5 separate regions of the Homo sapiens genome follow, and regions 1, 2, 4 and 5 are each linked to region 3. Evidence: promoter capture Hi-C in 16 types of primary human blood cells and fetal thymus (Javierre and others, 2016). All regions are on one chromosome and are shown on one strand. The core of a region is centred on a gene start or on the middle of the fragment in contact, and the rest is flanking DNA. Distances in the headings are between cores, read along the strand shown.

Region 1 (2,838 bases), core at 3-2,502, 2.1 Mb after region 3:
TCATCAGGGAAATACAAATCAAAACCACAGTGAGATATTATCTCACTCCAGTTAGAATCGCTATACGAAAAAGACAAAAACAAATGCAGAGGGTGAGGATGCAGAGAAAAGGGAATTCATACACTGTTGATAGGAATGTAAATTAGTTCAACCATTATGGAAAACAGTGTGTAGATTTCTCAAAGAACTAAAACTACAACTACCATATGATCCAGCAATCCCACTACTACCCAAAGAACAGGAAATCAGTATGTCAAAGAGATACCTGTCCTCCCACAGTTACTGCAGCACTATTCACAGTGGCCAAGATACGGAGTTAACCTAAGTGTCCATCAAAAGAAGAATGGATAAAGAAAATGTGGTACATATATGCAATGAAATACTATTCAATCATAAAAAAGAATAAAATTATGTCATTTGCAGCAACATGGATAGCACCGGAGGTCATTATCTTAAGTGAAATAAGCCAGGCACAGAAAGATAAATACTGCATGTTCTCACCAATATGTGAAAGAGAAATAAGTTGATCTCAGAGAAGTAGAGAACAGAATAGTGGTAACTAGTGGCTGAGAAGGGTAAAGGAGAGGATTATATATAGAGAGGTTGGTTAACACATATAAAATTACAGCTAGGTAGAAGGAATAATTTTTGGTGTTCTATATCACTGTAGGATGACTATGATTAACAATAATTTATTCCATATTTTCAAATAGCTAAAAGAGTGGATATTGAATTTTCCCAAAGCAATTATTACAGATTGTATACAGGTATCAAAATATCACACTGTACCCCATATATATGTACAATTATTATGTGTCAATTAAAAAATACATCCACAAATTTATTGATACTTCATAAAAAAAGGAGTCATCTAATCCCCTCTCCTTAGACACTGATGGCCTTAGTAACTAAGTTCTAATGAATTGACTATGGCTTAAAGTGACACTGCATGACTTCCACTGTGAGTTTAGAAAAAGCATTATAGCTTTCAACCAGATTTTTCTTCTTCGGGATGCTCATCCTTGGAACCCAGTTAGCATATTGTGAGGAACCAAATAGTGCTGTGGAAAGATCATGAGAAGGTGTTCTAGCCACAGCTTTGGCTAAGGACTAGGCCAACACCAGTATCAGTCACCAGACATGTGAGAGAAGGGGTCTTCAGATGATTCCAGCCCCAATCTTTTAGCTGCCCCAGCTGATGTGAAGTGGATAGTGGAACAGAGACAATCTGTTCCCATGAAGCTCTGCATAAATTACAGATTTGTAAGTAAAGTAAGGGTTGTAATTGTTTTAAACCATTGCATTTTGCAGATGGTTAAACAGCAATAGATAAAAGGAACAGGAAAAAAGAGTGCTGAATATTGGACAGTAGTTCAGAGCATATACTGCATCCTACAGGACAGTATCAAAAAGGGTTATCTCCCAGAAGGCACCATAGCTAAGTCTTCAATATATCTTCAATAAGACAAGATACTTCTCAGTGATTGAGTACACAATTAGACCAATAAATTCCATGGGCAATAGCCCATTGCATTACTTCTTTCATTGCAGAGTGAATTTCTTGGTCAAAAGCAATATAGTGTTAGAGAAAATGATAGTGTCTAAAGCACTGAGTAATTCCCTAGATGGTGGTGTCAGCGGAAGTACAGTGAGCAGGGAAAGCAAATCTCAATCTAGAATAAACATATTTTAGAGAGGACAAATAAGAACTCCCTCAATGATGGGGAGGGCCAATGACCAATGGAATAGACTTGCCTACATGTGACTGGCTGACCCTCCCAGAGCATGGGGTATTGGTCACTGCTTCTGAACACCCAGCGGTGGCTTGGTGATCCCATGCATAGCTCCAATCCTGTTGCCATTGCCATTGCCATTTATTTCATGATTCTACTGAGCAGGCAGTGAGGCTGAGTTTCATCACAAAGCAGTTCATTTCATCCATATGATTCTTAAGATTTATTCTGAGAGGTCCATCACTATATCCCTTCTGGAGTCTTCCTTGTCACTAGTTCTCCAGTCTTGCTCTTTCCATGTCCTTCACAAACTGGCCAAAAAATTATCCTCTGACCCTGAATTGACCATTTCTCCTTTCAGCCAAACTGAACATCAAAACATACTGGTGAAAATTCTGCCCACTGAAAGAACTTCACTATTTCAATATTTTTCAGGTCCAAAGCAGGACTACAACATATCAATTTCTAGCAAGTACCAGTATATTGTCCAGAGCAACATACCTGTATTGTATTTTGCACATCATAGGTGCTCAATAGACACTTAAGCAATTTTTAAAATACAGACATATTATTTCCCTACCTGTATTTCAACAGCTTCCCATTGGTCTAAAAGATCCTGCTGGGTATGGCCTCTGCATACTCCTTTCACTTCTCTGTACTCTAAGCCTTGACTCTCAGTTCCTGTAATGTTCCATGCTCTCTCCTGCTACAAGACCTTTGCTCAGACTGTTCCCTCTCCTTGCCTAGTTAACTCTTGACTCAAGATACTTCCTGTCTTACAATCATCTTTCTTCATAGTACTTATCTCTGTATTAATTCCTGTCTCATCCTGGGACTCTAAGTTCTATGACTATGTGCACTCACCACTGATTCCCCAACACCTAATATAGTGCCTGGCATATATGATATGCTAAATAATATTTTGTTAAATGAATGAATACATGAATCAGTGAATGAATAAGCCTGTAATGATGCAGTAATTTACCTATAAGTTATCACTGCCAGTTTTGCTTAAGAAGCTTTCTGCCATCACAATTTTTACTCATCTAATTCACATTTCTTTATTAATTTAAGAAGTATTTGTCAAGACAACTTTTCTAAGCAT
Region 2 (2,700 bases), core at 70-2,569, 2.2 Mb after region 3:
CAAAAATTAGTCGGGCGCAGTGGCTAATGCCTGTAATCCCAGCACTTTGGGACGCCGAGGCGGGTGGATCACCTGAGGTCAGGAGTTCGAGACCAGCCTGGCCAACATGGTGAAACCCTGTCTCTACTAAAAATACAAAAATTAGCTGGGTGTGGTGGCAGGCACCTGTAATCCCAGCTACTCGGGAGGCTGAGGTAGGAGAATCGCTTGAACCCAGAAGGCGGAGTTTGTAGTGAGCCGAGATCGCGCCATTGCTCTCCAGCCTGGGGGACAAGAATGAGACTCCATCTCAAAAAAAAAAAAAAAAAAAAAAATTAGCCAGGCATGGTGGTGGGTGCCTGTAATCCCAGCTACTTGGGAGGCTGAGGCAGAAGAACCACTTGAACCCCGGAGGCAGAGGTTGCAGTGAGCTGAAATCACACCACTGCACTCCAGCCTGGGTGACAAGAGGAAGACACTGTCTCAAAAAAAAACAAAAAACACAGAGTAGTCTGGCTACAGTGGCTCACACCTGTAATCCCAGCACTTTGGGAGGCCAAGGTGGGAGGATCACATGCATCCAGGAGTTTGAGACCAGCCTGGACAACATAGGGAGACCCTGTCTCTACAAAAATTCGAAACTTTGTGGTGTGTGGTGGCATATGCCTGTAGTTCCAGCTACTCGGGAGGCTGAGGTGGGAGGATCACTTGAGTCCAGAAGGTTGAGGCTGCAGTGAGTCATTATCATGCCACTGCACTCCAGCCTGGGAGACAGAGTGAGACCCTGTCTCAAAACAAAACAAAAAACAAAAGCCTAGAATAGAATGTTCTCTATTATTTTATTTATTTTTATTTTTAGAGACAGGATCTCACTTTGTTGCCCAGGCTGCAGTGCAGTGGTGGGCTCATAGCTCACTGCAGACTCAAACTCCTGGGCTCAAGCAATCCTCTTACTTTAGCTTCCCAAGTAGCTGGGACTACTGGCGTGCACCATCACATTTGGCTAATTTTGTTTGTTTTTAGCAGTGGTCAGGCTTCACTATGTTGCCCAGACTGGTCTTAAACTCCTGAGCTCAAGCCATCCTCCCGCTTTGGCCTCCCAAAATGCTGGGAGCACTTTGCCCAGCATTCTGTATAATTTTAATATTATCTTTGTAAAGGCCCTTATATGTCTTTTAAATATTTTTCTAAATATTTTGTCTTTTTGATTGCCATTATAACTGTAATTTCTATCGTATATTTCTGATAGATTTTATATATATACATATATTATGTATATAAAGTAAAGTAAAGGAGAGCTACTGGGTTTTGTATATGAACCTTGGAAACTGCCATCATCTTTATTTATTTATTTTTTTGAGATGGGATCTTGCTCTGTTGCCCAGTGGCACAATCTTGGCTCACTGCAACCTCTGCCTCCTGGACTCAAGTGATCCTTCCACCTCAGCATCCCTAGTACCTGGCACCACAGGTGCTCGCCATCATGCCTAGCTAATTTTTGTATTTTTTGTAGAGACAGAGTTTCGCCATGTTTCCAGGCTGGTTTCGAACTTCTGGGCTCAAGAAATCCACCTGCTTCAACCTCCCAAAGTGCTGGGATTACAGGCATGAGCCACCGCACCCGAGCCATCCTGAATTACTGCCTCTCTAATAGTTGGGAATTTTCCAATCACATCATCTACATATAAATTTGCTTCCTCTTTCCAATATTTACATCACATTTCTCTTTTTTGTCTAATTACACTGGCTTGAACTGCTAGAGCCATGTTAAATGATAATGATCATGATGGCTGCTTTCACCTTGCTTTTTATTTTTTGGCTTAAAACAATAGAAATTTATTCTCTCACAGTTCTGGAGGCCAGAAGTCCTAAGTCAAGGTGTTGGCACTGCTGTTTCCTTCTGGACACTGTGAGGGAAAACCATTCCCTGCCTCTCTTGCAGTTTCTGGTGGCTGCCGGCCCTCCTCGGCACTCCTTGGCTTGTGGCCGCGTCCCTCTGGGCTCTGCTCTGTCTTCACGTTGCCTTCTCCCCTGTGGGCCTTTTCTCCTCTTCTCTTCTGAAGACACTTATCATTGGATTTAGGGCCCATCTCAATCCATGATGATGGCATCAAGATTGTTAACGGAATTACACCCACAAAACTCCTTTCATACATTCACAGCTTCCAGGAGGACATTATCTTTGGAGGCACTACCTTCAACCTGATGCTTTTTCCTGAAATGACTTTTTTCTTTTTACATTTGGCTACTGTGGTATAAACTGTTGTCCCATCCGAATGACCTGACATGCACCTGAAACATGTTTGAAAACGCAACGTTTGTTAGTGCAGTCAGCTCTCCTCTGGAACTTTTCAGCTAATCTGTCACCTTACAGCTCTTGGTTTAATCCTCCTCTTACCTGGGTATAGGATGTGCCCACAATGTCAGGCCTTTTCGTTCTCTCTCTATATATAATTTTTTCTTTCAATAGCTTGTGGGGTCCCAGGGGGTTTTGGTTTCATGGATGAATTATATAGTGGGGAAGTCTGAGATTTTAGTGCATCTCTCGCCCAAGTAGTGTATATTGTCCCAATATCTGTCACCCCTTTTCCACCCCCCTACTTCTGAGTCTTCAAAGTTTATTACACCATGCTGTTTGCCTTTGTGTACCCACAGCTTAGCTCTCACTTATAAGTGAGAACATACAGTATTTGGTTTTCCACTCCTGAGTTACTTCACTTA
Region 3 (2,700 bases), core at 38-2,537:
TATGGTCAAAGGCAGCAGCAGCAAAGACTTTACTAACTCGTAATTCTTCACTGAGTTCTCGAAGGTGTTCCATAATGTCCACCAAGAAGCCAAAGTCACAAAGCCATTGTTTGTCTGAGAAGTGGACTGTTGTTGCCCCTACTGAAACCAAGAACGCTTCCATTTCTTTTCTTAGAGAGAATATTAGTTTTAAAGTTTTCCCTCTCCTAAGCCAATTGTTCAGACATCGTCCATTAACCCTTTCACCATGCTCTGATTCAGATTCCGTTAGTAAAGTCTGAAATTCAGGTCGCCTAACGCCTCTGGTCTTAATCAAAACTATCCATTCGGATATGGTATTTATGATCTGATTAACATCTACATCATAGGAGCTCAACAGTTCCAAGTGAAGAAATCCTGAATAATGAATGACATTCCAACAGTTGGGGCTTACGGCCTTTTCTCTCATGTATGAGACGAGTCCTGAGTTCTCACCAATCATCCTCAAAGTATGGGTCGTGGTCAGTCCAACCATTCTCTGCAAGCTAAGCCCTGCTGTCTGCAGGGACTCTAGGATTGCCGACATGAGCGCACCAACACTGAAATGATGAGTCAGGTTGATTATGGTCAGAAGATCTTCTTGCACCTCCAACTCAGGGCCTACACCGCGGATAAAGACCAGGAGGTAGTTCTCATAGGCCACAAAAGCCTGGTCGTCCAAGGCAAGAGAATAGGCTTTAAAGTCCCTGGCTCGGTTAAAAAGCTGGTTGCGTAGATTCCTGTCAATGCTCAGGATCCTCTGCCTTGTGATATCTGGAGATAAGTCAACGCCTTGCAGGACGCTTACATGCTCGGGCAGTACCTCTCTCAGCAACACCTCCATGCACTGGTATACAAAGTCCCCCTCACCCCAGCCGCGACCCTTCAAGGCCAAGAGGCGGCAGAGCCCGAGGCCTGCACGAGCAGCTCTCTCTTCAGGAGTGAAGGAGGCCACGGGCAAGTCGCCCTGACGCAGACGCTCCACCAGGGCCGCGCGCTCGCCGTCCGCCACATACCGCTCGTAGTATTCGTGCTCAGCCTCGTAGTGGCGCCTGACGTCGCGTTCGCGGGTAGCTACGATGAGGCGGCGACAGACCAGGCACAGGGCCCCATCGCCCTCCGGAGGCTCCACCACCAAATAACGCTGGGTCCACTCGGGCCGGAAAACTAGAGCCTCGTCGACTTCCATCTTGCTTCTTTTGGGCGTCATCCACATTCTGCGGGAGGCCACAAGAGCAGGGCCAACGTTAGAAAGGCCGCAAGGGGAGAGGAGGAGCCTGAGAAGCGCCAAGCACCTCCTCCGCTCTGCGCCAGATCACCTCAGCAGAGGCACACAAGCCCGGTTCCGGCATCTCTGCTCCTATTGGCTGGATATTTCGTATTCCCCGAGCTCCTAAAAACGAACCAATAGGAAGAGCGGACAGCGATCTCTAACGCGCAAGCGCATATCCTTCTAGGTAGCGGGCAGTAGCCGCTTCAGGGAGGGACGAAGAGACCCAGCAACCCACAGAGTTGAGAAATTTGACTGGCATTCAAGCTGTCCAATCAATAGCTGCCGCTGAAGGGTGGGGCTGGATGGCGTAAGCTACAGCTGAAGGAAGAACGTGAGCACGAGGCACTGAGGTGATTGGCTGAAGGCACTTCCGTTGAGCATCTAGACGTTTCCTTGGCTCTTCTGGCGCCAAAATGTCGTTCGTGGCAGGGGTTATTCGGCGGCTGGACGAGACAGTGGTGAACCGCATCGCGGCGGGGGAAGTTATCCAGCGGCCAGCTAATGCTATCAAAGAGATGATTGAGAACTGGTACGGAGGGAGTCGAGCCGGGCTCACTTAAGGGCTACGACTTAACGGGCCGCGTCACTCAATGGCGCGGACACGCCTCTTTGCCCGGGCAGAGGCATGTACAGCGCATGCCCACAACGGCGGAGGCCGCCGGGTTCCCTGACGTGCCAGTCAGGCCTTCTCCTTTTCCGCAGACCGTGTGTTTCTTTACCGCTCTCCCCCGAGACCTTTTAAGGGTTGTTTGGAGTGTAAGTGGAGGAATATACGTAGTGTTGTCTTAATGGTACCGTTAACTAAGTAAGGAAGCCACTTAATTTAAAATTATGTATGCAGAACATGCGAAGTTAAAAGATGTATAAAAGCTTAAGATGGGGAGAAAAACCTTTTTTCAGAGGGTACTGTGTTACTGTTTTCTTGCTTTTCATTCATTCCAGAAATCATCTGTTCACATCCAAAGGCACAATTCATTTTGAGTTTCTTTCAAAACAAATCGTTTGTAGTTTTAGGACAGGCTGATGCACTTTGGGCTTGACTTCTGATTACCCTATTGTTAAATTAGTGACCCCTCTTAGTGTTTTCCTGTCCTTTATTTCGGAGGACGCACTTCGAAGATACCAGATTTTATGGGTCATCCTTGGATTTTGAAGCTTATAACTGTGACAAAAAATGTGAAGGGAAGAGATTTGAAACATGTGGAAGGAAAAGTGAGTGCAGACTATAAACTTCCAAAAAGACAAGCCCAAAATACACCTAAACGTTATGTCAGATTATTTTGTTAAAATCAGTTGTTAGTGACGTCCGTACGTTAATAGAAAAAAGAATGCTTCAGTTTGGAGTGGTAGGTTTCTAGAGGGATTTATTGTGAAAGTATAAACTATTCAGGGCAATGGGACTGAGAGAA
Region 4 (2,711 bases), core at 46-2,545, 2.4 Mb after region 3:
ACACCATTCTGCTGCCTCAGCCTCCCGAGTAGCTGGGACTACAGGCAACCACCACCATGCCCGGCTAATTTTTTGTATTTTTAGTAGGGATGGGGTTTCACTGTGTTAGCCAGGATGATGGCTGAGCCTTCTGATTGTAATAGGACAGTAAGGAGATAAAATAAACTACATAGTCAAACAAGGTGAACCGTCTTAGAAGCAGAACCTGAAGGAACTGGGGAGCAGGAGAGGGAGGCACAGAGGAGCTGGAAGCTGAAAGGAAACAGGCAGGGGAAAGAATGTGTCTTTGAATTGCATATCAGCAAGGCTCTCCAGTGTGAGTGAGACTTGACCAGTTTGTAACTTCCCGTGTACGGAAATCCTTCTAACATGCAAATCTGACCCTTTCATTCTCCTGCTTAAACCTCTTCAGCATAAAGCCTACATTCTCCTACATGGTTGATGGAGGGCCCCAGGCTCTCCCTCTGGCCTCCTCCCTTCCATTCCTTCCCTCCTACTAGACGTTTCCACATTTACAGTTCTAGGAATCTGACATGCTCTCTCTTACCTCTGGGTATTTGTACATGCTCTGCAAGATGAAAACAGACTCATCTATTAGTAAATGCTTGAATGAATGAGTCAAATCGGAAGGTACTGGGGACAGTCCACCACCCCTTTTGGACTTTTCAGGTCTCAAGCAGTAGCCACCTCCAGTCTGATACAAAGGATTACTCCCTCCCCAGTGCCAGCTGGAGCCCCATCATGGTGAGGCTCTACAATGAGTTCATGGAGAAGACTGTGGATGGGTCATGGACAAGACTTCCAGGTTGTTGGTGCTCTGTGCAATTCCTTAAAGAAGCAGACCTTACTAAGATTGCTAAAGCTGTCCCTGGTATGTTGAAACCCCCTACACCAGTAGGGTTTAACTGGGCTTGCAGGGGTGCTCTAAATAATACAGAACTGTTGGCAAAACTTTGTTTATGCATATGCATTTTCCTCAGTGCAATCTGTGCCCCAGCCTATCTCCTATATCTCCTCTGTGGCTTGCATTAGCCTGAAAGTCAGGACCAAGGGAGTCTGGAGATCATGATCCCTGATTCATATGATATTAGCCCAGAAAAGGAACTTGGAGCCACTTAGTTCAAGGCCCTCATCTTACACGTGAGAAAGCTGAAGCCTAGAGAGGTGACAATGAGTTTTTGTCAGATATTGGACTAGCATCAGAAACTCCTGACTTTTAGTTCAGTGTTCTCTCCACTTCTATCCGAAGCCACTCCTGGCATCTCCTTATACTTTCCCACCACAGCTGGTCTCCTGTATAGACCAGACAGATGAAGCATACATGAGGAATTGGAAAGGGGCAGCGTCTGGGACCAAGGGCCAGTGCCTTCACCCTGGTACACCCAAGGCCAGTAGCTCAGTGACAATGCCAGTGGGACTATCAGGTAATTTACAGACACCTGAAGCCAGGACCCAGAACCTGTTGGGAACAGGACACGTGTTCCCTCTAGTGGCCAGTTTGAGCTGAGCTTCTGACTGGGTGAAAGAGAACAGATGGGAAAGAATGGCAGATGATGGAGTGCCACGCGTGTTAAGAAACAAAGGGGCCAGAGGGAAAGACTTCTAATTTACATACCTAATCTGTCATTAGAAATTCTGCTTTGAGATTTTTGGTAAAAATGCAGATGTTTGGTAAGTATTTGGAATTAAAAAAACATAGACACAGGGTCTTGCTCTGTCACCCAGGCTGGAGTGCAGTGGTGCAGTCATAGTTTGCTGCAGCCTTGAACTCCTGGGCTCAAGAGACTGTCCTGCCTCCACCTTCCGAGTAGCTGGGACTACAGGCTCATTCCACCACACCTGGCTACTGTTTTTATTTTTGTAGAGACAAGGTCTTGTTATGTTGCCCAGGCTGGTCTTGAACTCTTGGGCTCAAGAGATCCTGCTGTCTCGTCCTCCCAAAATGCTGGGATTACAAGCCGGAGCCACTGAATCTACCCTAAGTATTTAATTTTATATATGGGAGGCTTCACTCTTGACCTCTAATTAAGGCCCATAAACTGGCCAGGCGCAGTGGCTCACATCTGTAATCCCAGCAATTTGGGAGGCCGAGGCAGGCAATCACCTGAGGTAAGGAGTTTGAGACCAGCCTGGCCAACATGGTGAAACTCCATCTCTACTAAAAAAACAAAAATTAGCTGGGCGTGGTGATGTGCGCCTGTAATCCCAGCTACTCAGGAGGCTGAGGCAGGAGAATCACTTGAGCCCGGGAGGCGGCGGTTGCAGTGAGCTGAGATTACACCATTGCACTCCAGCCTGGGCAATAGCACAAGACTTATCTCAAAATAACAAACAAGAAAGTTGAGGTGAATACACAGCTAGCAGGTGACAAATCCAGGATCAAATACAGAATCAATGCCTGATTCCAAAGTCCACTTTCTTTTTACAGCATTACTCTGCCTCAGTGGTCTCTCAAAGACACACAGAAAAAAGCAGGAGATAGCCTCTACCCTTTAAGGAAGGGAAACAAGGTGTATTTGTCAGGGAAATATGTGTCCTGATTTTCTTTCATCCAGATTATGAAAGATAATCTCCTTTACTTAAAGTCAACTGATTACAGAGGTTAACCACATCTACAAAATACCTTCACAGCAACACCTGGATTAGTGTTTAATTGAAAACTGGGTATTATAGCCTAGCCAAGTTGACACATAAAACTGACTGTTACACAA
Region 5 (2,700 bases), core at 118-2,617, 2.4 Mb after region 3:
CATAAGGGTCTACGAGTTCATTTTAGGGTGGGCTCAGAAATCAGATTGACTCAGCAGGCCCCAGAGAGGAACCTGCACTTTTTTTTTTTTTGACGGAGTCTTACTCTGTCGCCCAGGCTGGAGTGCAAGTGGCGCAATCTCCACTCACTACAACCTCTGCCTCCTGGGTTCAAGCAATTCTCCCGCCTCAGCCTCCCCAGTAGCTGGGATTACAGGCATGCCTGGCTAATTTTTGAATTTTTAGTAGATACCGGGTTTCGCCATGTTGGCCAGGCTGGTCTCTTGAACTCCTGGCCTCAAGGGATCCGCCCGCGTCAGCCTCCGAAAGTGCTGGGATTACAGCCACCGCGCCCCTTCAATTAACTCCTATTTTTTTGTTTGTTTTTTGGAGACAGAATTTCGCTCTATTGCCCAGGCTGGAGTGCAGCGGTGCAATCACATTCACTGCAGACTTGACCTCTAGGCTCAAGCTATCCTCCTGCCTCAGCCTCCTGAGTAGCTGAGACTACAGGGACGCACCATCATGATTGGTTAATTTTTGTATTTTTTGTGGAGATGGGGGTCTCCCCATGTTTCCCAGGCTAGTCTTGAACTTCTGAGCTCAGGCAATCCACCCACCTCGGCCTCCCAAAGTGCTGGGATTACAGGCACAAGCCACCGCGCCCGGCAAACTTATCTCCTACTGATGGATATTGCAAAATTTTTCTTCTACCAAAAAAAAAAAAAAAAAAAAGATAGATATAATCCATACCATCTGTTCAATCTTGTCCTTTTTAACTTTTTCAGGGAAACTTCCCCCAGGTGATAGATGGATAGATACATGAGATAGACATAACGCATACGATCAGTTCAATCTTATCTTTTTTAACTTTTTCAGAGAAAACTTCCCTTAAGTGAACATTTAAATCTGAATTACGTCCTGTTAAACTGTTCTCCAGGAAAATAAAATAAAATAAATCTTCAAGTTTTTGTTTACCTAACAATTTGTTGTGTCGAACAAACCTTCCTACTTTTCAGGTAACAAAATGGCAGCTTAGGCTAGAAAGCCGCTCATATTCGCAGGTACAAGGGCTGGGTAAGAACGCCCCGCCTGGCTGACTAACTTGAGTTCCGCGCTCTGGACAGGAATTATGCACAGGGCGTCGCTGTGGCACTAGAAACCCCAAAGTCACAAGCGCCCCAGATCCGACCAGGATGCCGCTACCGGCTACAGCCCAGAGGCCCGCTCCTGCGGCGCAAGCCCGCCTTCCTGAAGAAAAAGCCCAGTCCCGGCAGCGTTCTTCTCCGGCTCCGCCCTTCTTCCGCTCGACTTTCTTTGCCATTGGCTGACAACGGAGTACATAAGGACGTCATTTCCTGCCGCCTGTCTTTTCCGTGCTACCTGCAGAGGGGTCCATACGGCGTTGTTCTGGGTGAGTTCCGTGTAGCGTCCCTGGCGCCTTCCAGGGCTAGAAAAATGAGCTTTTCCTGCTCAAATGAAGGGTGAGAAGACTAGTGATGAAAGCCGGTCAGACTGGATCTGTCTCCCGCCCGGCGCGCCCCACCTTAGGCCTGCGGCCCGCACGTGGCCAGGCTCGGGCTGGCGGGTTCCCAGAGTGCCCCGGGAGCGGGTGGAGGCCGCCCTCCAGCGGAGGCTCCGAGCTGGGGTTCGGACCAGGCCGCGGGTGGGCGGGAGTGCAGAAAGCGGGCTAACATCCTGTGTTGCTATCCCTTCGGAGTCCCACACGGCGGTGAGTCTAGGCCCAGGCGCTGATTTACACCAGCTACTTGGGCTGGTCGGGTTTTCCCTTCGCGCCGTGCGGGTCAGGAGTTAAGGTTCTCGGGTTTTTAGACAAACAAGTGGTGACAGCACAGCGAAGTAATTCCAAAGCATCCGCCTACAATCTGCTTGAAAATGTCTGAAAACAATTCATGCCTTTTTTGCCTTTAGTTTGCATATTCCAAACATGGCTGCTCTTTTGTATCTAGTTGTTAACTTGGCGCATCCACAACTTTTCCTTAATTCCTATCTTGAGAAGTGTTGAATTTCCATTCGCTAATTTCGTGTAGTTTTATTACTCGGTTACTCTGCCGTCCACACTATTTCCTCAGTAAGATGTGCGCTGTTCCGTAATACACGACATGTATGGGTTAACTTTCTGTTTACCCTTCACTACACTGTAAGCTCAATGCCTGACACTATAGCAGATGGAGTTTTTGGTTGCTTTTAAGGGTGTGCCCTACTTAACTCAATGGAATGAAAAGAAATAGGTTGCTCTCTTATTTCAGATTCCCGTCGTAACTTAAAGGGAAATTTTCACAATGTCCGGAGCCCTTGATGTCCTGCAAATGAAGGAGGAGGATGTCCTTAAGTTCCTTGCAGCAGGAACCCACTTAGGTGGCACCAATCTTGACTTCCAGATGGAACAGTACATCTATAAAAGGAAAAGTGATGGTTAGTCATTGCTTTAATTTTTTGTTACTCCAGCTGTAAGTACAAATTTTGAGCTTGCTATTCTCGTGGTTAGTTCTGGGTAATTTCTTTCTATCTTCCTTAAATGAAGCCAGACCCCTACGTTGAAAACATACTTTAAATAAATGTTCTTGTTATTGAGAGAAAAGATTTCTGCTCCAGGGGAGGAATATGTCAGTTGTCTGAGTTACGGGACTTGGGTTGGGTCATGAACATGAGAAAGTTCATTGGCTGAGTTTCTAATAGCT

What was found. Contacts are between HindIII fragments. The CHiCAGO score rates a contact against its expected background, and 5 or more counts as called.
Region 1: a contact is called between a fragment that was not itself captured here and the fragment with the promoter of EPM2AIP1 in region 3, in 5 of 17 cell types (naive CD8 T cells, total CD4 T cells, total CD8 T cells and 2 more). The highest score is 14.3, in naive CD8 T cells.
Region 2: a contact is called between a fragment that was not itself captured here and the fragment with the promoter of EPM2AIP1 in region 3, in 1 of 17 cell types (neutrophils). The highest score is 7.8, in neutrophils.
Region 4: a contact is called between a fragment that was not itself captured here and the fragment with the promoter of EPM2AIP1 in region 3, in 1 of 17 cell types (total CD4 T cells). The highest score is 5.3, in total CD4 T cells.
Region 5: the fragment with the promoter of RPSA here is called in contact with the fragment with the promoter of EPM2AIP1 in region 3 in 1 of 17 cell types (naive CD8 T cells); the score reaches 5.7 in naive CD8 T cells.

What each region holds. Positions count from the first base shown.
Region 1 is chr3:39,047,793-39,050,630 of GRCh38, forward strand. The region is part of intron 1 of SCN11A (sodium voltage-gated channel alpha subunit 11); the gene reads right to left. Among named protein-coding and RNA genes, the nearest start is that of SCN11A, 2.7 kb to the right of the region's middle. The HindIII fragment of the contact is 2,996 bases long and covers 1-2,750 here.
Region 2 is chr3:39,161,396-39,164,095 of GRCh38, forward strand. The region is part of intron 1 of LOC101928263 (a long non-coding RNA gene); the gene reads left to right. Among named protein-coding and RNA genes, the nearest start is that of CSRNP1, 9.2 kb to the left of the region's middle. The HindIII fragment of the contact is 5,351 bases long and covers 1-2,700 here.
Region 3 is chr3:36,991,844-36,994,543 of GRCh38, forward strand. EPM2AIP1 (EPM2A interacting protein 1) reads right to left here and starts at 1,288. Exons shown (of 1, transcript NM_014805.4): 1 at 1-1,288. The coding sequence starts at 1,234. It overlaps MLH1 (mutL homolog 1), which reads left to right and starts at 1,675. Exons shown (of 19, transcript NM_000249.4): 1 at 1,675-1,820. The coding sequence starts at 1,705. RefSeq lists enhancers at 459-538, 569-888, 1,009-1,358, 1,729-1,948, 1,865-2,376. The HindIII fragment of the contact is 4,668 bases long and covers 1-2,159 here.
Region 4 is chr3:39,376,807-39,379,517 of GRCh38, forward strand. LOC105377037 (a long non-coding RNA gene) reads left to right here. Exons shown (of 3, transcript XR_001740661.3): 2 at 670-871. It overlaps LOC105377644 (a long non-coding RNA gene), which reads right to left. Exons shown (of 3, transcript XR_007096252.1): 3 at 2,625-2,711. Among named protein-coding and RNA genes, the nearest start is that of SLC25A38, 5.2 kb to the right of the region's middle. RefSeq lists a silencer at 1,396-1,445. The HindIII fragment of the contact is 8,755 bases long and covers 1-2,711 here.
Region 5 is chr3:39,405,353-39,408,052 of GRCh38, forward strand. RPSA (ribosomal protein SA) reads left to right here and starts at 1,368. Exons shown (of 7, transcript NM_002295.6): 1 at 1,368-1,412; 2 at 2,269-2,434. The coding sequence starts at 2,302. RefSeq lists enhancers at 1,089-1,880, 1,262-1,401 and a silencer at 1,572-1,751. The HindIII fragment of the contact is 4,276 bases long and covers 1-2,700 here.